Regions from separate parts of the Homo sapiens genome. Here regions 2, 3 and 4 are each linked to region 1. Evidence: promoter capture Hi-C in 16 types of primary human blood cells and fetal thymus (Javierre and others, 2016). All regions are on one chromosome and are shown on one strand. Each heading gives the region's core, a stretch centred on a gene start or on the middle of the fragment in contact. The rest is flanking DNA. Distances are from core to core; before and after follow the strand shown. Region 1 holds the start of RPS16 (ribosomal protein S16). Region 2 holds the start of IFNL3 (interferon lambda 3). Region 3 overlaps LRFN1 (leucine rich repeat and fibronectin type III domain containing 1). Region 4 has its middle 9.7 kb from the start of SYCN.

Region 1 (6,721 bases), core at 3,741-6,240:
TAATCCCAGCACTTTGGGAGGTTGAGGCAGGTGGATCACGAGGTCAAGAGATCGAGAACATCCTGGCCAACATGGTGAAACCCTGTCTCTACTAAAAATACAAAAATTAGCTGGGCATGGTGGCACATGCCTGTAGTCCCAGCTACTCGGGAGGCTGAGGCAGAAGAATTGCTTCAACCCAGGACGCAGAGGTTGCAGTGAGCAGAGATCACGCCACTGCACTCCAGCTGGCAACAGAGCAACACTGTGTCTCAAAAAAAAAAAAAAAAAATTAGCCATTAGCTATTTGTGGTGTCACGTGTATGTGGTCCCAGCTACTCTGGAGGCTGAGGTGGGAGGATTGCTTGAGCCTAAAAGGTCAAGACTGCAGTGAGCTGTGATTGTGCCACTGCACTCCAGCGTAGGGGACAGAGCAAGACCCTGTCTCAAAAAAAAGAAAATAAAAAGACCTTCCTTAAGTTCCTTCTACCTTCTAAGTCTTGATTTTATTAGAACAAGATACTTTACTGCCATCTGCCGCAAGTTGGCAAATATGCAAATCTACAATATCCAGCCTGTGAATATAGTACTGTCTTTGTAGATGTGGGATCCTTGTGCAGTGTACAACATTCACATCCATACATGGTGGTCCTATCTATCTTATAGGATTGGTGTACAGAGTAAATAAGCTAACATACTTAAAGCATTTAAACCAATACCTGGCACAGAGTAAACACTATTTACATGCAGCTGTAGTCATCATCATCATTTGTTATTATATACCTCCCTATTCTAGGTGTTGGAGACAGCAGTGAGCAAAATATATCTGTCAAGGCTAGGGGCTGGGTCAGGAGATAGTCCCACTACTTCCTCCCCGCAACATATTCATATGGTCACACAGCAGCCCTCACACATGGAGACCACTGAATTCTCTCAAAACCTGCAACTGCAGAAAGAAGCGAATGCAATACTCACTGAGAGATCATCTGGGGTGTAGAGGGTGTCATCATTTTTGTTTTCCTACAGTTCAGGGGTAAGGAGGAGAATCAGATCTTGGAGGGAAAGAGGCTGACCCTTCCTCAAACACACCCCCTACCACGCCCCATCAATTGGCCCACCCCGTCTGCTGGCTCTGCTCCCCACTCGCTGGTATCTTCAGAGGGCTGCAAGGAAGTAAAAAGGCTCCCTCCAGCAGAGGGGCGGGCGTTCCTAGGCCCTCCCAGGGCTGTACAAGCAGGAGGATGATCCACAGAAGCAACATGGGCACCTTGCTCACTCCCAGGCCTTCTCTGGTGCTTGGCCTGGGGTTCTGGAAGAGAGAGGTACAGGAAGGGGGAGCAGACTGGAAGGCTGAAGTGGATGAGGGGAACTCCCCCGCCACCCCTCATCCCATCCCCTGCTTGCTCCACTCAAGCCACAGATAATTCAGGGAGTGTGCCCATAGAGGCTGGGGAAAGATGGTGACCCCAAAGTCAGGAGGGCTTAGGTCAGAGCGCTCCCTGACTCCCAAGCTCAGGGACGATACGAGACTTAGCAAATGTGTGAAGATCAATCTGGAGAGACGAGAGAACCTGAACTCCCCTGCCCAACAGGCCCTTAAGACAGTGCAGGCTAGGCCAACCGCTGTGGCTCACACCTGTAATCCCAGAACCTTGGGAGGCCGAGGTGGGCGGATCACTTGAGGTAAGGAGTTCAAGACCAGCCTGGCCAACACGATGGAACCCTGTCTCTACTAAAAAATACAAAAATTAGTGGCCAGGCACAGTGGCTCACACTTGTAATCCCAGCACTTTGGGAGGCCGAGGCAAGTGGATCACTTGAGGTCAGGAGTTCAAGACTAGTCTGCCCAGCATAGTGAAACCCTGTCTCTACTAATAAATACAAAAATTAGCTGGGCATGGTGGTGCATGCCTTTAATCCCAGCTACTTGGAAGGCTGATGCAGGAGAATTGCTTGAACCCAGGAAGCTGACGTTGCAGTGAGCTGAGATCAAGCCACTGCCCTCCAGTCTGGGCGACAGAGCGATACTCCATCTCAAAAAAAAAAAAGAAAAATTATTAGTCAAGCATAGTGGTGGAGGCCCGTGATCTGGGCTACTCAGGAGTCTGAAGCAGGAGAATCTGTAATCTCAGCTACTCCAGAGTCTGAAGCAGGACAATCACTTGAACCGGGGAGGTGGAGGTTGCAGTGAGCTCAGATTGCATCACTGCATTCCAGCCTGGGTGACACAGACTCTATCTCAATTTAAAAAAAAAAAAAGAAAAAGTACAGGTAGAATGTGTGCATCCTCTCATCTGCCTGTGTCTTCATTGGAAAACACCTGTGCTAGCCTTTATCTGTGTCTGCAAGTGAATATTTGAGGTCTCTGCTCTATTTATTTTATTTTATTTATTTATTTTTGAGACAGAGTTTATTTATTTATTTATTTTTGAGACAGAGTCTTGCTCTGGCGCCCAGCCTAGGGTGCAGTGGCGACATCTCAGCTCACTGCAACCTCCGCCTCCCGGGTTCAAGCGGTTCTCCTGCCTCAGCCTCCCTTGTGGCTGGGATACAGGCACCTGCCACCATGCCCAGCTGATTTTTGTATTTTTAGTAAAGGCGGGGTTTCACCATGTTGGCCAGGCTGGTCTTGAACCCTGGGCTCGAGTGATCCTGCTGCCTTGGCCTCCCAAAGTGCTGGGATTATAGGTGTGAGCCACTGCACCTGGCCTCTGTCTCAAGTATTTTGGAAACATCATGCCTGCCTTTATCTCTTTTTTGTCTGAGGGTTGGCCTCTCTGCCTCTAAATCTGTCACTGGGCTTGTTTTGGGGGTCCATCTCTTGACTGTCCTGGTCTCTCCCTTTTCTCCTCCTCTTCTCCCTTGGCCTTTCATCTTTCTCTTCTTCTCCACTTGTGCCTACATTTCTTTGGGCTGTGTCTGTGTCCCTCCCGGTCAGCCTCTGGGTACTTCCTTCCTCCCTCCCAACAGCCCCCTCCCCCCTCACCCTTTTAGAGCTGGACTCCGGGCTGGCTTTTCCCTCTGGCCCCAGACCTGCCCTCCAGTGTCTCCCTGTCTCCACCCTCTTTGGCAAGGTGCACCACGACGCCCTTTTGAACCCTGGATCCCAGACCCTGTACTGCCAGAGAAACTGAGGCAACTGTGGGCTCCCTCTAGCTCTGAGAGAGGAACCTCTTCGCTGGGGAGACTCTTGATGGGGTGAGACGCAGGGACATCTGCCGGGGAACCAGAGGACAACCCAATCCTGGGGTTCCTCAGGTGGGGTTGGGGGGCTGGGGATGGAGAATTCTGTGGGGAGGAGGCTTAAGTGGAGGGTGATTTGGGGGAGAGGAAAAAGATGACTGGGAGATTCTGGAGAAAGAGATTCTAGGGGCTGGGCGCGGTGGCTCACGCCTGTAATCCCAGCACTTTGGGAGGCTGAGATGAGTGGATCATTTGATGTCAGGAGTTCGAGACCAGTCTGGCCAATATGGTGAAACCCCGTCTCTACTACAAATACAAAAATTAGCCGGGCGTGGTGGTGCATGCCTGTAATCTCAGCTACTCAAGAGGCTGAGGCAGGAGAATCGCTTTAACCGGGGAGGCAGAGGTTGCAGTGAGCAGAGATCATGCCACTGCACTCCAGCCTGGGCGACAGAGCAGGACTCTGTCTCAAAAAAAAGAAAAAAAAAAAACAAAAAACAGAGAGATTCGGCCGGGCGTGGTGGCTCACGCCTGTAATCCCAGGACTCTGGGAGGCTGAGGCGGATCACATCACCTGAGGTCAGGAGTTCGAGACCAGCCTGGCCAACGTGGTGAAACCCCATTTCTACTAAAAATACAAAAAACGACCAGGGCGTGGTGGTAGACGCCTGTAATTCCAGCTACTCGGGAGCCTAAGGCAGGAGAATCTCTTGAACCCGGGAGGCGGAGGTTGCAGTGAGACGAGATCGCACCACTGCACTCTAGCCAGGGCAACGAGCGAAACTCCGTCTCAAAAAAAAGAGAGAGATTCTAGGGTGGGGACGGGGAAGAGGTTAATTCTTGGGGGAGGGTCTCTTAGGAGAGGGGGATTCTAACGGAGGGAAAACTCCAGGGAAGGCAGTTGCTGGGAAGAGGAGTCTCGGAAGGGAAATAAACTCAGGAGAAAGGTAGATTTTGAGGGACGGGTCTCTGAGAGAAAAGTTTTTGTGGATTTGCGGGGCGGGGTGTTCTGGGAAAGGGGGATTTGCCGGGAAAGGGGGATTTGCCGGGAAAGGGAGATTCTGGAGGAGGGAGATTCCAGGGGTACTGGGTCCTGACAAGAGAAAGATTCTGGGAAGGGTGACTGAGGGGACGAGGACCGAATGGAGGGAGATTCAGGGAAAAGGGGGGTCTAAGTTGAGCACTCTTAAGAGGGACATTTGGGGTTGGCCATCTGAGAGAAGGATGGGAAACATTCTGGGAAGAGGAAACTGAAAGGAAGGACATTCTGGTGAAAGGGAGATTCTGAGGGGAAGGGGCTCTGAGGGGAAAAGGATTCTGGGAGAGGATCCCCAAGGAGGGGGATTCTAGGGAGGATAGGATTCTGGAAGTCCTTAATCTGAGAATCCAGCCAGATTTCTTGCAGTAGATTCCAAAGGAAGATTCTGATGCGGGGGATTCGGGGAGGAGGGAGTCCAGAGGGGAGAAAGATTACAGGTGTTGGGAGGGTGGGAACTGATTTAAAGAAAGGGCGAAGGGAGATTATTAAAGAGCCAGAATGCAAAGAAGAGCTGCGGTAGTCGACTACAGAGGACGCGAAGCACACTCCCGCAGCCTTCCCTTCAGTCCGCACACGACACTCCCAGGCCCCGCCCCTTCCGCCCACAGAGCCCGCCACTTCCGCCTCACAGGGCCCGCCCGCTCTGAGCGCCTAAGGGCCTTCCCGCCGCTGACCAGACGCCCCGCCCGTTAGCCGCAACAGAAGCCGTAAAGCTCTCTCCCGTCGCGACGCAGTGCTCAAGGCGCCTGCGCAGACCCTGAAAAGCGGCCAGGGTGGCCCCTAGCTTTCCTTTTCCGGTTGCGGCGCCGCGCGGTGAGGTTGTCTAGTCCACGCTCGGAGCCATGCCGTCCAAGGGCCCGCTGCAGTCTGTGCAGGTCTTCGGACGCAAGGTGAGCCAGACGCCGGATGGGAAGGGGAGGGGAAGGAGAAGGCCAGGGTCTGGGAGAGGTCGGTGGGCAGGAATCTAGGGGGTAACATGGGAGCTGGAGCCGGAGCTCACGGGGCCCCTGTTTCTCTTGTATCTTACAGAAGACAGCGACAGCTGTGGCGCACTGCAAACGCGGCAATGGTCTCATCAAGGTGAACGGGCGGCCCCTGGAGATGATTGAGCCGCGCACGCTACAGTACAAGGTGCTGGGATCCGGCACCGGCGTTGAGTGGATGGAGGACTCTTGGAGACAGAGATGTTGTAGCTCTTGAAAGCTGGGGGGGCTGGCATCAGCAACGGGATGTTTAGAAGTTGTGTTGGGTGTAGAACAGTGGGGTATTTGGCAATAGAGCTGGGCTTGGGGTTCAGAAGATGTAAAAGCTGAGATGGGGTTGTTGAAGATTAAGGGTTTGCTTTGAGAACTGGGATGTTAGGAAGCTCACCTCACTGGGGCGGGGGGACCCAAAGGGTGAAGGGACACCGACTATTTTTTATTTTATTTATTTGTTTTGAGAGGGAGTCTCGCTGTGTCGCCCAGGCTGGAGTGTAGTGGCGCGATCTCGGATCACTGCAACCTTCGCCTCCCGGGTTAAAGCGATTCTCCTGCCTCAGCCTCTTGAGTAGCTGAGATTACAGGCATGCACCACCACGCCCGGCTAATTTTTGTATTTTTAGTAGAGACGGGGTTTCGCCATATTGGCCAGAGTGGTCTCGAACTCATTACCTCAGGTGATCCACCAGCCTCGGCCTCCCGAAGTGCTGGGATTGCAGGCGTCAGCCACCGTGTGCGGCCGAATTTGGGTCTGTTTAAATGCTTGCTTGTAAAAGGGGTTCCTCTGTTCCCTTTTTGGGACTCTCAATTTCTTTGGCTCAGAATGGAAAGAAACCAGAGTCTGATTTCTGCCCCTTCTGAACTCTACTACTTTTAAAAGAAAGAATATCTACATTGCAGGGTCAGTTAAAAAAATTTTTTTTGAGTTATAAGGTTCTTTTTTAAAAACAGTATCTTGCTGTCACCTACCCTGGAGTGCAATAGCACAATCCTAATGAACTGCAGCCTTAAACTCCTGAGTTGGAGATCCTCCCACCTCAGCCTTTCGGTTGCCAAGACTACAGGCACATCACCACGCCTGGCTCATTTGAGAAATATTTTTCTGTAGACGTGGGGTCTCACTTTATTGCCCAGGCTGGTCCTTGGTCTCATGTGATCCTTCTGCCTGGACTGGGATTACAGGTGTGATCACCATGCCTGGCCTAGAATTTAATAAAAATTCTGAGATTTCCTTTGTGTAGCAGATGTTGAATGTTACTGTTATTGGCTGTCACTGTATTTGAAGGATTTGTATGTGTACCCTCTGTTGAGTTTTGGGGACATAGCAGTGATCCAGATGACTTAAGGTCTTGCCTTCATGGACCTGCCAGCCTAGTTGGGGAGAAGGACTGGGCCCAATACCAGAAGCTGATCCAAAGTGGTCAGAACTGGGGAAGGAGACCTGTGAGCTGAAAGCAGGTAAAGGAAGTATCCAGACAGAGGCACTGGTAAAAGACCTGGAGCTGGGAAGGGTCTAGGGACCAGGGACAGGTTGTACTGT
Region 2 (6,685 bases), core at 762-3,261, 190 kb after region 1:
ACTTCTTCGCAGCCTTGGGCCTGACTTGGATCCACTGTCTCAGATATAAGAGGAGCGGGTCCTTCTACAGGGAAGAGACCACAGTTCTCCAGGAAGCCACGATATTTCCTCGGGGTGCATTGTACGACCCTCCAACGGTTGCTGTGGCAGGAAAAAACTTGAGCTCTGGAAACCGTGGCTGACCCCAGGCAACAGGGACCAGTTCCTCCTTGTGTGGTTACCAGGACACCCCCAACACCAGGTCCTAACCCCGGATTTGTAGCCCCACAGCCAGCTTTGAGATTCTGTGAATCCGTGACTCTTGGATCCGGCATCTAAGGGACACCAATCCATGAGGGATTTGGTAGTGAAAGGCCCAAGGGTCCTTAACCGACTGTGGTTCTTTGGATTCCCTTACGTGTGTTTGTATTTGTGAAGTTCCTGTGCATTTGCTATTCTGTCTCCCGGTTTAAATTTATTGCCAGTTATCAAAGAGTGTTTTGATCGCATTGGTTGTTTTCCGTATGATGATTGTGAGGTGCACCTTACAGCAAAAAAAGAGGCCGAGCCAGGGACTCAGGTGGCCTGAGTTTCAGTTCTGACCCTGCCAGTTAATTACAGTGGAATTCAGGGCAAATTACTTTTCTGAGCCTCTGTTTCCTCACCTATAGGATGGGTTAGCATACTTGCCTTGTGGAGGAGTAGTGTCCGTTGAGATCACGTTTTAAACTCTCCAGCTGAGGTCCTAGTATGGTCTTAATGAGTGGATTCTATTAAATAATCACTCACATAAATACACAAACAATTGTGTTATTAATTTTTTCTCCAAATCTGTGCATTAGCAATCTGCGTTGCTGAATGCACCCCTCCTTGCCAAGGTCACACGGCTAGTGAGGGTCAGAACCAGGTTTGAACCCCAGACCCTTCATCTCCAAGACCCATGCTCTTCACCACTGCCTGAACTTCCCTAAGAAAGACGGCACCCACGTGGTGTCCTTCAAGTCCTTCGTCACACCTCAATTCTTGAGCAGAGCCTCATATTCCTGAGTCCTTCCTTGCCTGGGCAATTAAGAAATATTGGCCTCTGGGCATGGTGGCTCACACTGAAATCCCAGCAATTTGGGAGGCCTAGACAGAGAGATGACTTGACATCAGGAATTTGAGACCAGCCTTGCCAACATGGTGAAACGCCATCTCTACTAAAAATATAAAAATTAGCTGGGAATGGTGGCACAAATCTGTAATCTCAGCTACTTGGGAGGCTAAGGCAAGAGAATTGCTTGAACCCAGGAGGCGGAGGTTGCAGTTAGCCAAGATTTTGCACTGCACTCCAGCCTGGGTGACCGAACAAGACCCTGTCTCAAAATATATATATATATATATATATATATATGCCAGGAGTGGTGGCTCAGGCCTGTAATCTCAGCACTTTAATAGGCTGGGTGAGGAGGATGGCTTGAGCCCAGGAGTTTGAGGCTGCAGTGAGCTGTGATCATGCCATTGCACTGCAGTGACAGAGTGAGACCCTGTCTTAAACAACAACAAAACCAGAGCAGGTGGAATCCTCTTGGGAACATACCTTCCTGTAGGTTACCCCTGAGTCTCCATCAGTTTCTCTTTCCCTCCAGCTGCTCATCTGGCTCACTAGCCCTGCCCTGCTCTGGGCTTTCCCAGCCTGGGGCTCCCCTGGTGGCCGGTGTCTTACCTGAGGCTGTGTTTTCACTTTTCCTACATCAGCTGGGACTGCCCTTCTGTCAGGGATAAAAGCTGCCCCATGGAGCTCAGGCAGGAATTACATCCCAGACAGAGCTCAAAACTGACAGAAAGAGTCAAAGCCAGGACACAGTCTGAGATCCAGAAGAGGGGACTGAAAAGAACAGAGACTCCAGACAAGACCCAAACAGACCCTGGGTGACAGCCTCAGAGTGTTTCTTCTGCTGACAAAGACCAGAGATCAGGAATGAAACTAGGTGAGTCCCACATCTCTGTCCGTGCTCAGCTCCTGCAGCCCCTGCCCTCAGTGGGCAGCCTCTGCATTCCCTCAGCTCCCTTTCTCTCTGTGACACAGACATGACCGGGGACTGCATGCCAGTGCTGGTGCTGATGGCCGCAGTGCTGACCGTGACTGGAGCAGTTCCTGTCGCCAGGCTCCGCGGGGCTCTCCCGGATGCAAGGGGCTGCCACATAGCCCAGTTCAAGTCCCTGTCTCCACAGGAGCTGCAGGCCTTTAAGAGGGCCAAAGATGCCTTAGTGAGTCTCCCCCTGCCCTCCTGCCATGGACTAGCCTCCACCCGCACTCCAAGGGTCACCATGCTTTCCCACTCCCAGCTTCCTTCACTGGGCTAGCCTCCACCCTCCCTGCAGTGGGCTATCTCATGCTCCTACTGCAGGGACTGACTCATGTTTTCCTGAAGAAGAGGGTCCTCTACCATCCTCCCAGCAGTTAACCTCCCCTATCCTGTTGTCAGCCATCCTCCAATCCCATCAGAGTGGTCTAACCTCCACCCCTCCTGCTGGGGCTAACCTGTGCCTTTGCTGTCTAGGAAGAGTCGCTTCTGCTGAAGGACTGCAAGTGCCGCTCCCGCCTCTTCCCCAGGACCTGGGACCTGAGGCAGCTGCAGGTGAGAGGGGGAGTCAGGCCCACCCCTGCCCTCCCAGCCCTGCTCACCTGGCTCTGTAGTGGCCCCTTCACCTTCTCCTTCTCCATTGTCCCTCTCTCCTCTCCCCACACCTGCTACCCCTTCCCTCTGCTCCTACCTGACCACACTGGCTGTGCCCTCTCCCCTGTGCCTGTCACCTTCACTTGTTCCTCTCTATCCTCCTCCCCCAACCTGTTCCCCTCACCTCCCCCCTCACCTGCTCTTTCTCACCTCTCCTCAGGTGAGGGAGCGCCCCGTGGCTTTGGAGGCTGAGCTGGCCCTGACGCTGAAGGTTCTGGAGGCCACCGCTGACACTGACCCAGCCCTGGGGGATGTCTTGGACCAGCCCCTTCACACCCTGCACCATATCCTCTCCCAGCTCCGGGCCTGTGTGAGTCGTCAGGGCCCGGGCACCCAGGTCTGTGAGCTCTGAGCAGCGTCCTTCCCCTGGCCAAGGCCCCGGCTCACACACCGCCCTCCTCTGCCCACAGATCCAGCCTCAGCCCACGGCAGGGCCCAGGACCCGGGGCCGCCTCCACCATTGGCTGCACCGGCTCCAGGAGGCCCCAAAAAAGGTGAGTGACCCGGGAAGAGAGGGACTGAGGTCTGGGGAGCCACTGGGAGCCCAGAACCCAGACAGCCCCTGACCCATCCCCTCCTCCCTACAGGAGTCCCCTGGCTGCCTCGAGGCCTCTGTCACCTTCAACCTCTTCCGCCTCCTCACGCGAGACCTGAATTGTGTTGCCAGCGGGGACCTGTGTGTCTGACCCTTCCGCCAGTCATGCAACCTGAGATTTTATTTATAAATTAGCCACTTGGCTTAATTTATTGTCACCCAGTCGCTATTTATGTATTTGTGTATGTAAATCCAACTCACCTCCAGGAAAATGTTTATTTTTCTACTTTTTGAAATCCTTGTTGAAATAAACAATGAGGAAAAGACACCCATGACGTGGGACTGTGTGTGCGTTGGTGTGTATTTCCTTTGCATTGCTGCCATAACAAATTACCCTAAAAGTAGCATCTAGAACAGCAGGTTCATTGAGTCTGTGCTGTCCACTGGGGTCCCCAGGTCACATGTCACTATCGAGCACCTGGAATGTAGGTGGTGCAACCTCATTTTTTCAGTGAGTGTAAAACATACCCCAGAATTTGAAGATTTACTGTGGAGAAAAAAAAAAAAGTAAAACAGCTTAATTATAATTTATATATTCATTAGATGTTGAAATGATAGCACTTTGGATGTATTGGGTGAAATGAAGCATCTTTAAAATTAATTTAGAGCCTGGATGTGATTGCTCAAGCCTGTAATCACAGCACTTTGGGTGGCTGAGTTGGGAGGATCACTTGAGCCCAGACCAGCCTGGGCAACATAGCAAGATCCTGTCTCTATAAAAAATTAGAGAATTGGCTGGGTGTGGTGGCACAAGCCCATAATCCCAGCTACTGGTGGAAGCTGAGATGGGAGGACTGTTTGAGGTCAGGAGTTCACGACCAGCCTGAGCAACAGCAAGATCCTGTCTCTTGCGTGATCACATCTCACTGTAGCCTCAAACTCCTGGGCTCAAGTGATTCTCTCTCCTCGGCACCATCCTCCACCCTCTCCAGCCCCTCCCCGAACTGGGATTACAGGCTTGAGTCACCGGGTCCAGCCCATTCTCTTTCCAAGAAGCCCCTGAATTGTATAAGCAAACATGAGGTCTCACTAACCCTGGATAAGCCCCTACAGATGAGGAGGACAACTTGGATCAGGGACCCCTGCTGAGTAGAGTTGGCTGAGCTGCTGGAACAAAGAGTCCCCCAAATACAGTGATCATGAATTACAAACCACAGAGTGTCATTCTCCACCAGCTCCTCCTCCCAAGGTGAGCGCTCCCCCTGGCAGGATGGCCCCACTCAGTCATCCAGGGGCCCTGGTTCCTGGCAGTTCTGTGCTCCACAGTCCCCGGGACAGGGCTCCCTCATCATCTTCACCCACCGGACCTCACGGCAGCCTTGAAAAGCCTACGGACCCTTCTCAGAAGGAAAGAACACGTGCAGGACAAAGGAATCCAACTCTGATTGTAATACAGTGATCAAAATATTTTTTCACACTGTGACATAGCAATTCATGTGCTTCTTCATGAATGCATTAAGTAAAAAATCACCTGTGGCAGCTTTAATAACCACTGTGACTTAGAAGCAGAGATGAGCATAAATGACATTTCAAGGTGCCTGCTGGAAGATAACGTGATAGGAAATGCCTGTGATTTCTTTTGGTAACAGTCACAAGTTCTGCTAACACTGCTGTGGTGTGTTGCTGCATTTGTAATGGATTCGTGCTAGATGCAAGACTGGTCCCCAGAGATGTTCCTGATTCCTGGACCTGGGAATATGTTATGTTCCATGGCACGAGGGACTCTGCAGATGTGAGTAAGTTAAGGGTTTGGGATGGGGGCGTTATCCTGGGTTGTCCACCTGGACCCAATGTCATCACAAAAGTCCTTCTAAGAAGGAGGCCGGGGTCAGCATCATTAGCGGAAGATGTAACCACAGAAACAGGACATTGGAGTGATGTCAGGAAGGGAACCGGGGTCAAGGGATGCTGGACACCCCCAGAGGCTGAGAAAGGAGAGAGATCTCCCCTGCTGCTTCCAGAAGGAACCCGCTCTGCTGACATCTTGACTGTCAGAACTGTAGGAATAGAAATGTGCATGCATTTTGTTTTGTTCTTTTTGTTCAGGTAATTTAAATATTTTTTTTAATTGTGGGAAACCCACAAAATGTACCATCTTATCCTTTCTAAAGCACATTGTTCAGTAGTGCAATTTTATTATTTATTTATTCTATTTTTTTTTTTTTGAGACAGGACCTTGCTCTGTCACCCTGGCTGGAGGGCACTGGCATGATCATAGCTCATTGCAGCCTCGACCTCCTAGGCTCAAGTGATCCTCCCACCTCAGCCTCCTGAGTAGCTGAGACTACAGGTGTGTGCCATTAGCCAGTCAGATGCCTGGCTAATTACTGTATTTTTAGTAGAGATGGGGTTTTGCCATGTTGGCCAGGTTGGTCTCGAACTCCTGACCTCAAGTGATCTGCCCCCCTTGGCCTCCCAAAGTGCCGGGATTACAGGTCTGGTCCTAGTGGTGTTTGCTACATTGTTCGGCAAGCAATCTCCAGAACTCTCTTCATCTTACAAAATTGAATCTCTGTACCCATTAAACAACAACTTCCTATTAACCCCTCCCGCTACCCCGGCAAATATTTAGACACGTCTGTTTCTAGGAATTTGACTTCTCTCAGCACCTCATGTAGGGGGAATCATACAGCATTTGTTCTTTTGAGACTGGCTTATTTCACTGACATAATGTCTTCAAAGTTCATTTTTATTGTAGCATGTGTCAGAACTTCCTTCCCTCCTCTTGCTCTCTTTTTTTTTTTTTTTTTTTTTGAGACAGAGTTTCGCTCTTGTTGCCCAAGCTGGAGTGTAGTGGCGCGATCTTGGCTCACTGCAACCTCCACCTGCTGGGTTCAAGTGAATCTCCTGCCTCGGCCTCCCGAGTAGCTGGGATTACAGGTGTCTGCCACCACACCCAGCTAATTTTTTGTAGTTTTAGTAGAAATGGGGTTTCACCATGTTAGCCAGGTCGGTCTCGAACTCCTGATCTCAGGTGATCCACTGGCCTTGGCCTCCCAAAGTGCTGGGATTACAGGCATGAGCTACCGCGCCTGGACTCTCTCTCTCTGTCTTTAAGTTTAGAGACAGGGTCTTGCTCTGTTACCCAGGCTAGAGTACTGTTGTGCAATCAGCTCACTGCAGCCTCAAATTCCTCAGCTCAAGTGATCCTCCTGCCTTAGCTTCCTGAGTAGCCAGCACTACAAATGTGTGCTACCACATCTGGCTAATTTTTAAATTTTTTATAGAGACGAGGCCTCAGTATGTTGCCCAGGCTGATCTGGAACTCCTGGATTCAAGCGATCCTCCTGCTCCGGCTTCCCAAAGTGCTGGGATTACAGGTGGGAGCCACCGCACCCGGCCAGAATTTTCTGCCTTTTGAAGGCTGAATCATATTCCATCATATGTGTAG
Region 3 (7,315 bases), core at 649-3,148, 130 kb after region 1:
GAGGTGGCCAGTAGCGTTGGCCCAGTTTTGGGGTAGAAATGCCTAGATGAAGGACCTTGAATGGCAGTTGTCCTAGCAAGAGTGAGACATAGCTAGGGAGCATGTCCCTTGAGGGCAGGGCTTAAAAGCCATAGCACTTCTCCCCTGCAGGGGCCGGGATATGCAGAGGAGGTAATACGAATGATAGATATATTGTCCCAGTGGGTGATGGGACACAGCCAGGAGGTGGGTCTGAGGGCGGGGCATACAGATGAGGGGTGTGAAAGGGTGGGAATATGTTGATGGAGGCGGGGCTTGAATTGCTGCTGTTGTCTCAGTAGCGGCTGAGACTTCGATAGCAGGGTTTAGTCCCCACTGTTCACCATGGGCGGGGCATAAAGCGAAGGGGCGTGGTTCGGGGGGACTAACCCCGCCCTGAACCCGCCCCCTCCTACAGGATGATCCCGTCCACCAGTCAGACCTTCCTGGTGAATGACCTGGCGGCGGGCCGTGCCTACGACTTGTGCGTGCTGGCGGTCTACGACGACGGGGCCACAGCGCTGCCGGCAACGCGAGTGGTGGGCTGTGTACAGTTCACCACCGCTGGGGATCCGGCGCCCTGCCGCCCGCTGAGGGCCCATTTCTTGGGCGGCACCATGATCATCGCCATCGGGGGCGTCATCGTCGCCTCGGTCCTCGTCTTCATCGTTCTGCTCATGATCCGCTATAAGGTGTATGGCGACGGGGACAGCCGCCGCGTCAAGGGCTCCAGGTCGCTCCCGCGGGTCAGCCACGTGTGCTCGCAGACCAACGGCGCAGGCACAGGCGCGGCACAGGCCCCGGCCCTGCCGGCCCAGGACCACTACGAGGCGCTGCGCGAGGTGGAGTCCCAGGCTGCCCCCGCCGTCGCCGTCGAGGCCAAGGCCATGGAGGCCGAGACGGCATCCGCGGAGCCGGAGGTGGTCCTTGGACGTTCTCTGGGCGGCTCGGCCACCTCGCTGTGCCTGCTGCCATCCGAGGAAACTTCCGGGGAGGAGTCTCGGGCCGCGGTGGGCCCTCGAAGGAGCCGATCCGGCGCCCTGGAGCCACCAACCTCGGCGCCCCCTACTCTAGCTCTAGTTCCTGGGGGAGCCGCGGCCCGGCCGAGGCCGCAGCAGCGCTATTCGTTCGACGGGGACTACGGGGCACTATTCCAGAGCCACAGTTACCCGCGCCGCGCCCGGCGGACAAAGCGCCACCGGTCCACGCCGCACCTGGACGGGGCTGGAGGGGGCGCGGCCGGGGAGGATGGAGACCTGGGGCTGGGCTCCGCCAGGGCGTGCCTGGCTTTCACCAGCACCGAGTGGATGCTGGAGAGTACCGTGTGAGCGGCGGGCGGGCGCCGGGACGCCTGGGTGCCGCAGACCAAACGCCCAGCCGCACGGACGCTGGGGCGGGACTGGGAGAAAGCGCAGCGCCAAGACATTGGACCAGAGTGGAGACGCGCCCTTGTCCCCGGGAGGGGGCGGGGCAGCCTCGGGCTGCGGCTCGAGGCCACGCCCCCGTGCCCAGGGCGGGGTTCGGGGACCGGCTGCCGGCCTCCCTTCCCCTATGGACTCCTCGACCCCCCTCCTACCCCTCCCCTCGCGCGCTCGCGGACCTCGCTGGAGCCGGTGCCTTACACAGCGAAGCGCGGGGAGGGGCAGGGCCCCCTGACACTGCAGCACTGAGACACGAGCCCCCTCCCCCAGCCCGTCACCCGGGGCCGGGGCGAGGGGCCCATTTCTTGTATCTGGCTGGACTAGATCCTATTCTGTCCCGCGGCGGCCTCCAAAGCCTCCCACCCCACCCCACGCACATTCCTGGTCCGGTCGGGTCTGGCTTGGGGTCCCCCTTTCTCTGTTTCCCTCGTTTGTCTCTATCCCGCCCTCTTGTCGTCTCTCTGTAGTGCCTGTCTTTCCCTATTTGCCTCTCCTTTCTCTCTGTCCTGTCGTCTCTTGTCCCTCGGCCCTCCCTGGTTTTGTCTAGTCTCCCTGTCTCTCCTGATTTCTTCTCTTTACTCATTCTCCCGGGCAGGTCCCACTGGAAGGACCAGACTCTCCCAAATAAATCCCCACACGAACAAAATCCAAAACCAAATCCCCCTCCCTACCGGAGCCGGGACCCTCCGCCGCAGCAGAATTAAACTTTTTTCTGTGTCTGAGGCCCTGCTGACCTGTGTGTGTGTCTGTATGTGTGTCCGCGTGTAGTGTGTGTGTGTGTGTGTGTGTGTGTGTGTGTGTGTGTGTGTTGGGGGAGGGTGACCTAGATTGCAGCATAAGGACTCTAAGTGAGACTGAAGGAAGATGGGAAGATGACTAACTGGGGCCGGAGGAGACTGGCAGACAGGCTTTTATCCTCTGAGAGACTTAGAGGTGGGGAATAATCACAAAAATAAAATGATCATAATAGCTAACGCTTAGTGAATACTTACTTACTATGTGCCAAGCACTTAAGTCATTTAATTCTCACAACACCAGGACATATCGGTATTATTATCCTGTTTTCCAGATGAGGGAATTTTGGCCCAGAAAAGTTAAATAACTGGCCCAAGGTGGTAAAACTGGGATTTAAAAAGGCAGGCAGGCCAACTTCTGAGTCTCTACTATAGGGGTGAAAAGACAGCTTCCCCTTCACTCTCTGAAATTTCACTGGAATGGGCTGACAATAGATTAACAAGAGAAAAGGAATATGGAGGGTATTTAACATGCACTAGGAAAATCACAGGAAAGTGATTACCCAATAACCCAGTGAGGTTTATATACTTATATACCTTTCTTCACAGGAGGGGAGATGGGGAAAGGAAGGCAATTTTGAGGGGTAATAAATGATTTTGGGGAAAATAAATGGGTCCAGGAGATAGAATTTAGCTTGTAAATGTCTCTGGAATTTGAGACTGACAGACAGATAATTTCTTGTGACAAAGTCCGTCCAGGTGTAGACATTTCTCTGTCTTTTTTTCCTGTTAAAGATAATGAAATGTCAGGGAGAGGACAGAAGGCACTTGTGTTCTTTTTGATCTTTAGGCAGATAAGAAGACATAGGAGGAAAGCCTCTTCCAGCATCTATGGATCTCTAAGTGCCTTTAATTTAAAATAATCAGCATACCAGGGTGCCATATTTTGGGGTGACATTCCCTGAACTCCTTTAATACTCAACTAGAGCACTGTACTGCTGAGCAGTTATTGAATATTCATTCCACCCTCTGAGACCTCACAACTCAGTGGGGTAGGGTAGATCTATCCTTGGTCCCATTTTACAGACAAGAACCTGAACCACAGAGAGATGAAGTCACTTGCCGTAGTCCCTCCATCCCCCCAATGAATAAATAGCGGAGCTGGAAGTTTGATTGTACCCCTACACTATGCTGCCTCTGGGGTCTGTGTCCGGAAGCTGGGGTATGGCCCCCATGAGCTTAGCTGAGCTTGGATATCCACAGCTAGCCTGGTGAGCTCAGGGACAAGACCTCTTGTGTCGCTCTGCCTGGAATCTGAGGGACCCTGGCGGAGGGCATGGAGGATGGTGTGGGGAGAGGAGTTTCTCAGGTGAGGCTGAGGGCTGTGGCTGGGGAAGGAAAGCTGGTTGGGGAGAGGAGAGGGACAGACATCCCAGTCCTTGCAGGGGCCCTGCAGTGATAACACCTTCCTGATCTTGGGGAAGAAGGAGGAAGGCTTCTTGCCAGCCAGGGGCCCCCTGAGGCCAGGGGAGGAGGAGAGAAAGACAGAAATAGAAACGGAGCAGGAGGGAGGGGGATGGATCTAGGCAGACAGGGTGGGAGGCTGCTAGGACAGAGGCACCAGAGAATCACAGGCCAGGAGGCTTCCTCACCCAGGAGCCCAACCACCCTCATTTGTGTCAGTCATGACGACTCCTAGGTACTGAGGGCTTTTCACAAGCCAGGCACAGTGCTCCCAAACCCTCCCTGATGCACGGATAAAGAGCATGCAACCCAGTGCATGGCACATAATGCTTAGGAAATGGAGTTACTCCAATAATAAGTATGACTGCATTTAAAGCCTGCACAGGTATATGCAGTGTGTGCACACAATTTTCAAGATGAGGAAACTGAAGCTCAGAGAGGTTAAGGAGCATCTCCAAGATCACACAGCCAGTTAACAGCAGAGCCATGATTGGAAAGCTGACTGCCTCCAACCTGCACACAGAACCATCAGGAATCTTGTCTCTAATTCACTTGATAAAGCATTATTGAGCATGTATTATGTAACTGGTCCTATGTAGGGGCTATCGCAGTGAACAAAATAGATGAAACAAAACAAGAAAGCCCTGCTCCGTGGTGCCTATATTCTAGAGGGAGGAGAAATAAACAAATAAGCAATTAAATGAGTCCAGGAGGTTGAGGCTGCAATGAGCCCTGATTGCACCACTGCACTCCAGCCTGTGTGGCAGAGTGAGACCCAAAAAACAAGCAAACAAAAACGAGTAAATAATGCATGTCCAGTGGCAAATAAATGTTGTGCCAAGAATGAAAACAGGATGATGGCATAGAGAATGACTTTGAGGCCTACTTTAGGTGGGAGGGTGAAGGATGGTGATGACAGAGCTAAATAAATGCATTGTGAGAAAAGCAGGGAAAAGCATTCCTGGCAAAGGGAACAGCATGTGCAAAGACCCTTAGGAAGTAGTGTGCTTGATGTGTTGGAGGCAGTGTGTCTGGACTGAAGTGGGAAGAGTGAGAGGAGAGTAGGTGGGAGAAGCAAGTGGGTTCTACAGAACCTTGTGAGGTGTGGTCAAGAGTTAACATTTTATTCTTTGGGGCCATGGGAAGCCAATGAAGGGTCTTTACCAGGGGTGGTATGTGGTCTGATTTCTATGGAGACCCCAGCTTTGGGGTGAGGTATGCCTACCTTCAAAACAGAATTGGGGGTGGGTGCAGTGACTGACACGTAATCCCAGCACTTTGGGAGGCCAAGGTGGGAGGATCGCCTGAGGTCAGGAGTTCGAGACCAGGCTCGCCAACATGGTGAAACCCTATCTCTACTAAAAATACAAAAATCAGCTGGGCATGGTGGGTGCCTGTGATTTCAGCTACTTGAAAGGCTGAGGCAGGAGAATCACTTGAGATTACATCACTGCATTCCAGCCTGGGTGACAGAGTGAGACTCCGTCTCAAAAATAAAAAAAAAAAGAAAAAGTTGTGGGGTGATTGCAAAGCTACAAGGAACAGAGCTTTAGAGAAAGGAACCCAGACTCAACCCCACCAAGACACTCTCCCTACACAGCTCTCTTCTCTGCTTGGCTCAGCTCAGACTCATCCCTTTCAACTGCATGTGGCGGGGGAAAATGGTCATTTATTTACAGACACAGACTCAATCTTTCCAGAGCCCAGAGATAAAATGGCAGAATCTCTAGTCCTAAGAGAAAAATCTCAGGGAAGAGCTCTTATCGGCCTGGCCGAGGTCACATAGCAACCCCTGCACTGATTGCCGCATCCAAGGGAATGAATGGAATGCTTTGATTGGCCAGGTAGGGGGTGGGTGGGTCCTATGTCCCGGTTGTGTGTCCTGGGAAGTAGGGATTGCTAAATATTAGGTTGAACCACATGAACTTGCCATTTTTGTAGGTCACACATTGTATAGTATTGGCAATTTTATGTGGTTGAAGGTAAATACTCTCCAGAAAAAGTAGGATAAGAAATCTTGTTGGCTGGGTGTGGTGGCTCATACCTGTAATTCCAGAACTTTGGGAGGCCAAGGTGGGATGATCACTTGAGGCTAGGAGCTTGAGACCAGCCTGGGCAACATGGCGAGACTCTGTCTCTACAAAAATAAAAATAAAAAATTAGCCAAGCATGGTGGTGTGTACGTGTAGTCCCAGTTACTCAGGAGGTGGTCTTGAGCCCAGGAGTTTGAGGCAGCAGTGAGCTATGATTGAGCCACTGCACTCCAGCCTGGATGACAGAGCAAGATCTTAAAAAAAAATAAAACAAAGAAAGCTTGTTGCTGTAATATGCTAGTCTCAAAAAAGAAAAAAAAATAAGAAAGCTTGTTGAGCATATAAAAGCAATAGAGGCTGGACACAGTGGCTCATGCCTGTAATCCCAGCACTTTGGGAGGCTGAGGCGGGTGGATCACCTGAGGTCAGGAGTTCGAGACCAGCCTGGCCAACATGGTAAAATCCTGTCTCTACTAAAAGTACAAAAATTAGCCATGCATGGTGGCGGGTGCCTGTAATCCCAGCTACTCAGGAGGATGAGGCACGAGAATCACTTGAACCTGGGAGGTGGAGGTTGCAGTGAGCCAAGATCGCACCACTGCACTCCAGCCTGGGTGACAGAACTAGACTCTGTCTCAAAAAAAAAAAAAAAAAAAAAAAATATATATATATATATATATACACAAATATATATATATATACACACATATATATATATATATACACATATATATATATATATACACACATATATATATAAAATAAAAAATAAAGCAATAGAAACCCCGGTGTACTATGCAGAAGGATTTTTGGAGGAGGAAGTGATATTGTGGAAATGAGCCAGGTGAAGACTTGGTCGTGGGAGAGTGGTGGGAACTGTCCTAAGCAGAGGGAACCACTTAAGCAAAGGCCACCATGAGAGAGGACAAGGAAAACTTGTTACTGTGCTCTGGAGATGGAGTGCTTGCTCTAATTGATCAAATTGGAGTCATGTGTCCAGCCAAATGAGGGAGTAGGAAAGGAGGTCATTTCCGAAGGAAAATTGAAGCACTGTTACCAGGAGTAATGGATGCTGCTCAGGCAAAACTAAAATATATCCAGTTCAAAATCTCTTCTATAAAGCCTTGGCATCTCCAAGTAGAGATTTGCAACCTTGTTTTCTTCCATTGCAACATTCATAATTGAAGAGACTCATATGCCTGGGCTCAGACATGTCCTATATGATTAAAATTTTTATGAAATATTAATTGACCACATTCTCTGGGTTCAGTGCTGGCCATGCAGAGATGAATTTGTGGGGATACATTTGGCCACAAGAAACAGAAAAATCCAATTAACACGACTTAAGCAAGAAAGACATTCAGTTATGTCACCTAAGAGTAAGTCTGGAGTTAGGGGATTCTGGGGTTTGGTGCAATGGCTTATTAATATCAGCAAGGACCCCGTTTTCTACTCTTTTGTTCTACCTTCCTCAAAATGATAGCTTCACACCCTAAACTTGTTGCCTTGTGGTCACAAAATGGTTGCCATAGCTCTGGGTCTCACATCCTCATACCAATGAACTAAGCAGGAAGGAAGGGAACAAGTGGGAAAGAGTTCTGTTTGTATTAAGGAAGAAAAATATGTTAAAATAATAAGAGTAACA
Region 4 (7,175 bases), core at 494-2,993, 220 kb after region 1:
CGACCTTTTCAGCTTCCAGTGTTGGCCTGCGTTCCTTGGCTCGTGGCCTCCTCCATCTTCAAATAACATCTCTCCAACCTCTGCTTCCATCCTCACCTTGCCTCCTCCTCTGTAGCCAAATCTTCCTCTGCCTCCCTCTTCTAGGGAGCCTAGTGATTCCATTTAGGGTCCACCCAGATCTTCCAGGACAACCTCTGATTGAACGATCCTGAACTCAATCACGTCTGTGAAGTTTCTTTTGCCAAATAAGGTCACCCACAGGTTCCGGGATATCTTGAAAGCCATTATCAGTGACCACACCCCCCTTCTTTCTACTGTACCCAGATTGTAGAAAGGCTGGATTCCACTTTTTCCTGGACATCTATGTCCTCTCTGACTCTGTCATCCCTTCAATGTGCTTCTTATTCCTTCAATCTGTGACATGGCCTCAATATCTGTTCTTCCTTCAGTAATAGGAAATTTGATTTGTGACCAGGCATACAGCTAACCCAAGGCCAGATCTTTTTTTTTTTTTTTTTTTTTTTTGAGATGGAGTCTCGCACTGTCGCCCGGGCTAGAGTGCAGTGGTGCGATCTCAGCTCACTGCAACCTCTGCCTCCTGGGTTCAAACAATTCTTCTGCCTCAGCCTCCTGAGTAGCTGGGATTACAGGCACCTGCCACCATGCCCAGCTAATTTTTTGTATTTTTAGTAGAGATGGGGTTTCACCACTTTGGCCAGGCTGGTCTTGAACTCCTAACCTCGTAATCCGCCTGCCTCGGCCTCCCAAAGTGCTGGGATTACAGGTGTGAGCCACTGCGCCTGGCCTAGATCCATCTTTTTGAGGCATTGAGTGCCCATCTCTAGCTAAGTTCTGGCAGCAAGATGTAGACAGGAGTGTCATGTACCATGCTCCTGGAAGAGCATTTCCTTCTTCTTCCCTCCCTCCCTTCCTCCACATGTTGACTGGGATGTAGATGGGAAGGATGGAGCTCAAGCAGCCATATTGGGCCACAAGAAAAAGCCACATTTGATGCTGGAGCAACAAGACAGAAGGAGCCTGGGCCCTGACACTGGAGCCCCAGACAGCCTTGGTAGCTGTCTCCCTTCATATGAAAGACAAGAATACTCCTCATTTGTAAAACAAAATACTAATTTTTGGGCAGAATAACAGCCCCCCGAGGTGTCCTCAGAACTAGCGAATATATTATGTTACACAGCAAGGAAGAGTTAAGGTTGCAGATGGAATTAAAGTCACTAATCATTATTTTATTTTATTTTTTTGAGACAGTCTCACTCTGTCACCCAGGTTGGAGTGCAGCGGTGTGACCTTGGCTCACTACAGCCTCTGTCTCCCGGGCTCAAGCGATTCTCATGCCTCAGCCTCCTGAGTAGCTGGGACTACAGGTGCATGCCACCACGTCCAGCTAATTTTTTGTATTCTTAGTAGAGATGGGGTTTCACCATATTGGCCAGGCTGGTCTCAAACTCCTGACCTCAAGTGATCTGCCCGCCTCGGCTTCCCAAAGTGCTGGGATTACAGGCATAAGCCACCACGCATGTCCCATTGATTTTAAAATAAGGAAATTGGGCATGGTGGCACGTGCCTGTAATCCCAGCTACTTGGGAGGCTGGCTGAGGCAGGAGAATTTCTTGAACCTGGAAGGCTGAGGTTGCAGTGAGCTGAGATCATGCCACTGCACTCCAGCCTGGGCGACAGAGCAACACTCCATCTCAAAAAAAAAGAAAAGAAAAGAAATTGACTATGCAACCAGGCTCAGTGTATCCTGGAGCTGAGTGGCTAAAAACATGGACTCTAGGCTGGGTGCGGTGGTTCATGCCTGTAGTCCCAGCACTTTGGGAGGCTGAGGCTGGAGGATCACTTGAGCCCAGGAGTTTGAGACCAGCCTGGGCAACATAGCAAGATTCTGTTTCTACAAAAATATGCAAAAATTAGCCAGGTGTGGTGGTGCATACCTGTAGTCCCGGCTACTCAGGCAGCTGAGGCAGGAGGATTGCTTGAGCCTGGGTAATCAAGACTGCAGTGAGTGGTGATCACACCACTGCCCTCCAGCCTGGGCAACAGAGTAAGACTCCGTGTCTTTAAAACAAAAAACAACAACAACAAAGGAAATTATCCTGGATTATGTGGGTAGGACCAGAGTAATTGTAAGGATCCCTTAAAGTGGAAGAGCAGGCAGCAGAAAAGGACAGAGTCATAGAGGGATTTAAAGATTCTCTGTTGCTGACTTCAACAAGGAAGGGGCCACAAGCTAAGGAATGCAAGTGGCCTCTAGAATCTGGAAAATGCAAGAAACAGGATTCTCCCCTGGAGCCTCCAGAAGGAAGGCAGCCCGATGACACCTTGATTTTAGCCAAAGGAGACTCATTTTGGACTTCCAACCTCCAGGACTGTGAGATAATGAATCTGTGTTGTTGTAAAGCACTGTTTGCAATCATTTGTTACGGCAGCAATAGGAAACTGATTCATAATTAATCCAAACTTCTTGCTTGAATCTTTCTCTGACTCTAAAGCTCCTGATTAATAAGAATAATAATAATCACACTTTGGGAAGTTGAGGCAGGTGGATCACCTAACATCAGGAGCTCGGGACCACCTTGGCCAATATAGGGAAACCCCATCTCTATTTTAAAAAATACAAAAATTAGCCAGGTGTGGTAGTGCACACCTATAATTTCAGCTACTCAGGAGGCTGAGGCAGGAGAATTGCTTGAACCCGGGAGGTGGAGGTTGCAGTGAGGTGAGATCGCGCCACCGCACTCCAGCCTGGGCAACAGAGTGTGACTCTGTCTCAAAATAAATAAATAAATTAAATAATAATCAAAACCATCATCCATGTCAGTAAACACACTGAGCACTTTCCATGTGCCTGAAATAACCTCAACCCACTATACTTTTTGCTTATGTAAGACACACAACAATCCCACAAAAAAAGTGTAAAGCCTTAAATACAAATGTGGGAAAAGGAACGAGGCTGAAAATAAGCCAGCTAACCATCTATCTTAAATGTGAGGAAAAGAACAGCACGCAAAACTCAAAGAAAAGGGCCAGGCATGGTGGCTCATGCCTGTAATCCCAGCACTTTGGGAGGCCAAGGTGGGTGGATCACTTGAAGTCAGGAGTTCAAGACCAGCCTGGGCAACATGGTGAAACCCCATCTCTACTAAAACTACAAAAAATTAGCTGGGCATGGTGGCACATGCCTGTAGTCCCAGCTACTTGGGAGGCTGAGGCAGGAGAATCCCTTGAACTTGGGAGGCGGAGGTTGCAGTGAGCTGAGATCGCACCACTGCACTCCAGCTTGGATGACAGAGCGAGACCCCGTTTCAAAAACAAACAAACAAACAAACAAACAAAAAACTCAAAGGAAAAAAGAATAAAGAAAGCAAGCATGAAAGATATAATAGGCTGGGAGCAGCGCTTCACCCCTGAAATCCCAGTGCTTTAGCAGGCCGAGGCAGGAGGATCACTTGAGCCCAGGAGATTGAAAGCAGCTTGGCAACACAGTGAGTGATCCCATCTCTACAAAAAGAAAAAATATTAGCTGGGCATGGTGGCATGCACCCATAGTCCCAGCTACTGGGAAGGCTGAGACAGGAGGATTGCTTGGGCCCAAGAGTTCAAGAACAGCCTGGGCAACAGAGTGAGACCCAGCTGTACTAAAAAAAAAAAAAAATAGCTGGGTATGGTGGCACATTCTCAGATACTCTGGAGGCTGAGGCAGGAGGATTGCTTGAACCCAGGAGGTTGAGGCTGCAATTAGCTGTGATCATACCACTGCACTCCAGCCTGGGTGACAGAGCAACACCTTAACTCAAAACAAACAAACAAAAAAAAGGTATAATAACCAAATCCACAATGGTAACTAATGCTATTTATCATTAATGAAATAAGATCAAATTAAAGAAACAAATGTACAATAGGAGAACCCGAACCCACAAAGCCAACTGTTAGTTATCATTGGCGAAGAGTCTAATAAAGATGTTGCAATTATAAGGCCAGATGCGGTGGCTCATGCCTGTAATCTCAGTACTTTGGGAGGCTGAGGCGGGTGGATCACTTGAGGTCAGGAGCTCGAGATCAGCCCCTGGCCAACATGGTGAAACCCTGTTTCTACTAAAAATACAAAAGTTAGCCAGGTGTGGTGGCGGGTGCCTGTAATACCAGCTACTCAGGGGGCTGAGGCACGAGAATCACTTAAACCCAGGAGGCAGAGGTTGCAGTGAGCCGAGATTGCACCACTGCACTCCAGCCTGAGCAACAAGAGCAAAACTCCATCTAAAAAAAAAAAAGTTTTGCAATTATAAATCAAAACTGATAGAGAAAAAATGAGGTCAGGCGTGGTGGCTCACACCTGTAATCCCAGCACTTTGTGAGGCTGAGGCCGGTGGATCACCTGTGGTCAGGAGTTTGAGACCAGCCTGGCCAACATGGTGAAACCTCGTCTCTACTAAAAATACAAAAAATAAGCCGGGCATCGTGGAGTGCACCTATAGTCCCAGCTACTCAGGAGGCTGAGGCAGGAGAATTGCTTGAACCTGGGAGGCGGAGGTCGCAGTAAGCCAAGATTGCACCATTGCACTCTAATCTGGGTGACAGAGCGAGACTCTATCTCAAAAAAAAAAAAAAAAAAAAAAAAAAAAGAAAAGAAAAAATGAGGGAGTCTCTGAGACTACTCTGGCTCAGAGAGTGCCTGATAAAAATTAATAACATTTTAAAAAATAAGAGAGAGCGAGACAGAATGTATCGATGACCAATATTAAGCAATAAGAAACAGGAAACCTCCCTACAAATCTCAAAACTCTAAGAACACGTAAGCAGTTTTTGTGTGTGTATTGTGTCCACTTCATGCATGAGGGAAACTGAAGCTTAGAGAGGCTGAGTAAGTTGCTCAAACTCACACAGCCCATAAAAGGCAGAGGCAGGATTTGAACCCACAGTCCTGGACCCACTCAATCTCTGTGCTATGGCGCCACCTCCTGAGCGCTTCTGGGTTCCCCCTTCCCGGGCCCTGCTACCAGCGAAACCCTGTCCCCAATCTGGGCTTGGCTTAGGGTTTTCACTCCCCACCCGCAGGGGCTCCTGGACCAACGCTATTGCAGCCCTGAAGAGTTTCAGATCCAGCTTCCTTCACCGGCTTCCTTCAGAATTTAATCTGAGTTTCCATCTCCATCGCTTCCCTGAGTTCTCTGGGCCTGGCTTCCCTCTGTATTCCTGCCACCTCCTCCTGGTGGCAGGTTCCAAATTTGGGCTGTATTCTTGCATTATCTGTCTCAGCTTAGACTGTCAGTTTGCAGAGAGCCTCGCCACTCAAGCAATGGCCCTCAGCAGCCTGGCATGCTCTGGGAACTTGCAGGAAATTCAGACCTAAACCCAGCCGGGCGCAGTGACTCACGCCTGTAATCCCAGCGCTTTGGGAGGCCGAGGCGGGTGGATCGCTTGAGGTCAAGAGTTCGAGATCAGCCTGGCCAACATGGTGAAATCCTGTCTACAGTGTGCCCCAGCCTGGGCGACAGAGCAAGACTCTGTCAAAAAAAAAAAAAAAAAAAAGGAAATTCAGGACCTAAACCCAAGCCCAAACCTGTTGAAGCAGAATCTGTAGCTTAAGACCTTTCCCGTCTCCCTCTCCCTCTCCCTCTAGGAGGTTGGCAGCACCTTAAAAGTTGAGTAGCTCTGGCCTAGACCAGAAAGGGACTGTGGGACCCCGGGAACCTTTAAGACAAGGCACCTCACCTGCCATAGGTGTATCTGAGAAAATGGAGGTGAGCTGTGTCCTGAGGTTAGCTGATGACCAATCTTTTGTCTGTGTTGCAGGAGATTCAAGTTCAGTCTGGGCATTTGGAGCTCCAGGCACTGGAGATGTTCCCTTTTCTAATTGCTAATGACAATATTTTTCTGTAATCAGGAGAATTACATGAAATATACTTTTAAAGGATCTAAACAAATTGAAGTATCAATACAGAAAATTCTAGACGTAGGCTGGGCGTGGTGGCTCATGCCTGTAATCTCAGCACTTTGGGAGGCCGAGGCAGGCAGATCGCTTGAGGTCAGGAGTTCGAGAGCAGCCTGGCCAACGTGGTGAAACCCCGTCTCTACTAAAAATGCAAAAATTAGCCGGGCATGGTGGCGTGTGTCTGTAATCCCAGCCATTTGAGAGGCTGTGGCAGGAGAATCACTTGAACCTAGGAGGCAGAGGTTGCAGTGAGCCAAGATCATGACACTGCACTCCAGCCTGGGCAACAAAGCAAAACTCCGTCTCAAAAAAAAAAAAAAAGAAAAAGAAAAAGAGAAGAAAATTCTAGGTATAATAAACCATTCGTGACATAGGAAGCCTCAGACTGAAGCCCTAGCCATCAGTTCTTAAACTTGAGTGTGCACTGGAGTAACCAGGAGGGCTTGTGAAAACCCAGATTGCAAGGCCCCATCCCAGAGTAGGGCTGGGGTGGGGGTGAGAATTTTAACTTCTAGCAAGTTCTGACAGGATGCTGATGCTGTTGGTCCAGGGAGTACCCTTTGAGAACCACTGTCTCCAAACCACACAGTTACGGCTGCTTTGGGATTATACTATCCCTTAAGAATTATATGGAAATAGCCAGGTGTGGTGACTCACGCCTGTAATCCCAGCACTTTGGGAGGCCGAAGCGGGCAGATCACAAGGTCAGGAGATCCAGACCATCCTGGCTAACAGGGTAAAACCCCATCTCTACTAAAAATACAAAATAATTAGCTGGGCGTGGTAGCAGGCACCTGTAGTCCCAGCTACTCGGGAGGCTGAGGCAGGAGAATGGCGTGAACCCAGGAGGCGGAGCTTGCAGTGAGCCGAGATCGCGCCACTGCACTCCAGCCTGGGTGACAAGTGCAAGACTCCATCTCAAAAAAAAAAAAAAAAAGAATTATATGGAAATAATCTGGCTGGGTGCAGTGGTTCATACCTGTAACCCCAACACATTGGGAGGCCAAAGCAGGAGGATCGCTTGGGCCCAGGAGCTAGAGACCAGCCTGGGCAACATAGCAAGACCTTATCTCTAAAAAAAAAAAAAATTTTTTTTTAATTAGCTGGGCCGGCCGGGCACGGTGGCTCACGCCTGTAATTCCAGCACTTTGGGAGGCCGAGGCAGGCAGATCATGAGGTCAGGAGATCGAGACCATCCTGGCTAACACGGTGAAACCCCATC

The links. Contacts are between HindIII fragments. The CHiCAGO score rates a contact against its expected background, and 5 or more counts as called.
Region 2: a contact is called between the fragment with the promoter of IFNL3 here and the fragment with the promoter of RPS16 in region 1, in 1 of 17 cell types (neutrophils). The highest score is 7.8, in neutrophils.
Region 3: a contact is called between a fragment that was not itself captured here and the fragment with the promoter of RPS16 in region 1, in 1 of 17 cell types (neutrophils). The highest score is 5.0, in neutrophils.
Region 4: a contact is called between a fragment that was not itself captured here and the fragment with the promoter of RPS16 in region 1, in 1 of 17 cell types (neutrophils). The highest score is 7.2, in neutrophils.

Annotation. Positions count from the first base shown.
Region 1 is chr19:39,434,218-39,440,938 of GRCh38, reverse strand. It overlaps RPS16 (ribosomal protein S16), which reads left to right and starts at 4,990. Exons shown (of 5, transcript NM_001020.6): 1 at 4,990-5,091; 2 at 5,231-5,332. The coding sequence starts at 5,044. RefSeq lists enhancers at 2,785-3,553, 5,217-5,796 and a silencer at 4,737-4,836. The HindIII fragment of the contact is 27,347 bases long and covers 1-6,721 here.
Region 2 is chr19:39,240,332-39,247,016 of GRCh38, reverse strand. IFNL3 (interferon lambda 3) reads left to right here and starts at 2,011. Exons shown (of 5, transcript NM_172139.4): 1 at 2,011-2,229; 2 at 2,523-2,600; 3 at 2,860-3,009; 4 at 3,110-3,193; 5 at 3,287-3,464. The coding sequence starts at 2,050. The coding sequence ends at 3,385. It also overlaps the pseudogene IFNL4. The HindIII fragment of the contact is 30,036 bases long and covers 1-6,685 here.
Region 3 is chr19:39,301,664-39,308,978 of GRCh38, reverse strand. LRFN1 (leucine rich repeat and fibronectin type III domain containing 1) reads left to right here. Exons shown (of 5, transcript NM_020862.2): 5 at 437-2,413. The coding sequence ends at 1,346. Among named protein-coding and RNA genes, the nearest start is that of IFNL1, 8.9 kb to the right of the region's middle. RefSeq lists an enhancer at 651-1,152. The HindIII fragment of the contact is 8,108 bases long and covers 1-5,952 here.
Region 4 is chr19:39,210,340-39,217,514 of GRCh38, reverse strand. No RefSeq gene overlaps it. Among named protein-coding and RNA genes, the nearest start is that of SYCN, 9.7 kb to the right of the region's middle. The HindIII fragment of the contact is 6,255 bases long and covers 1-4,870 here.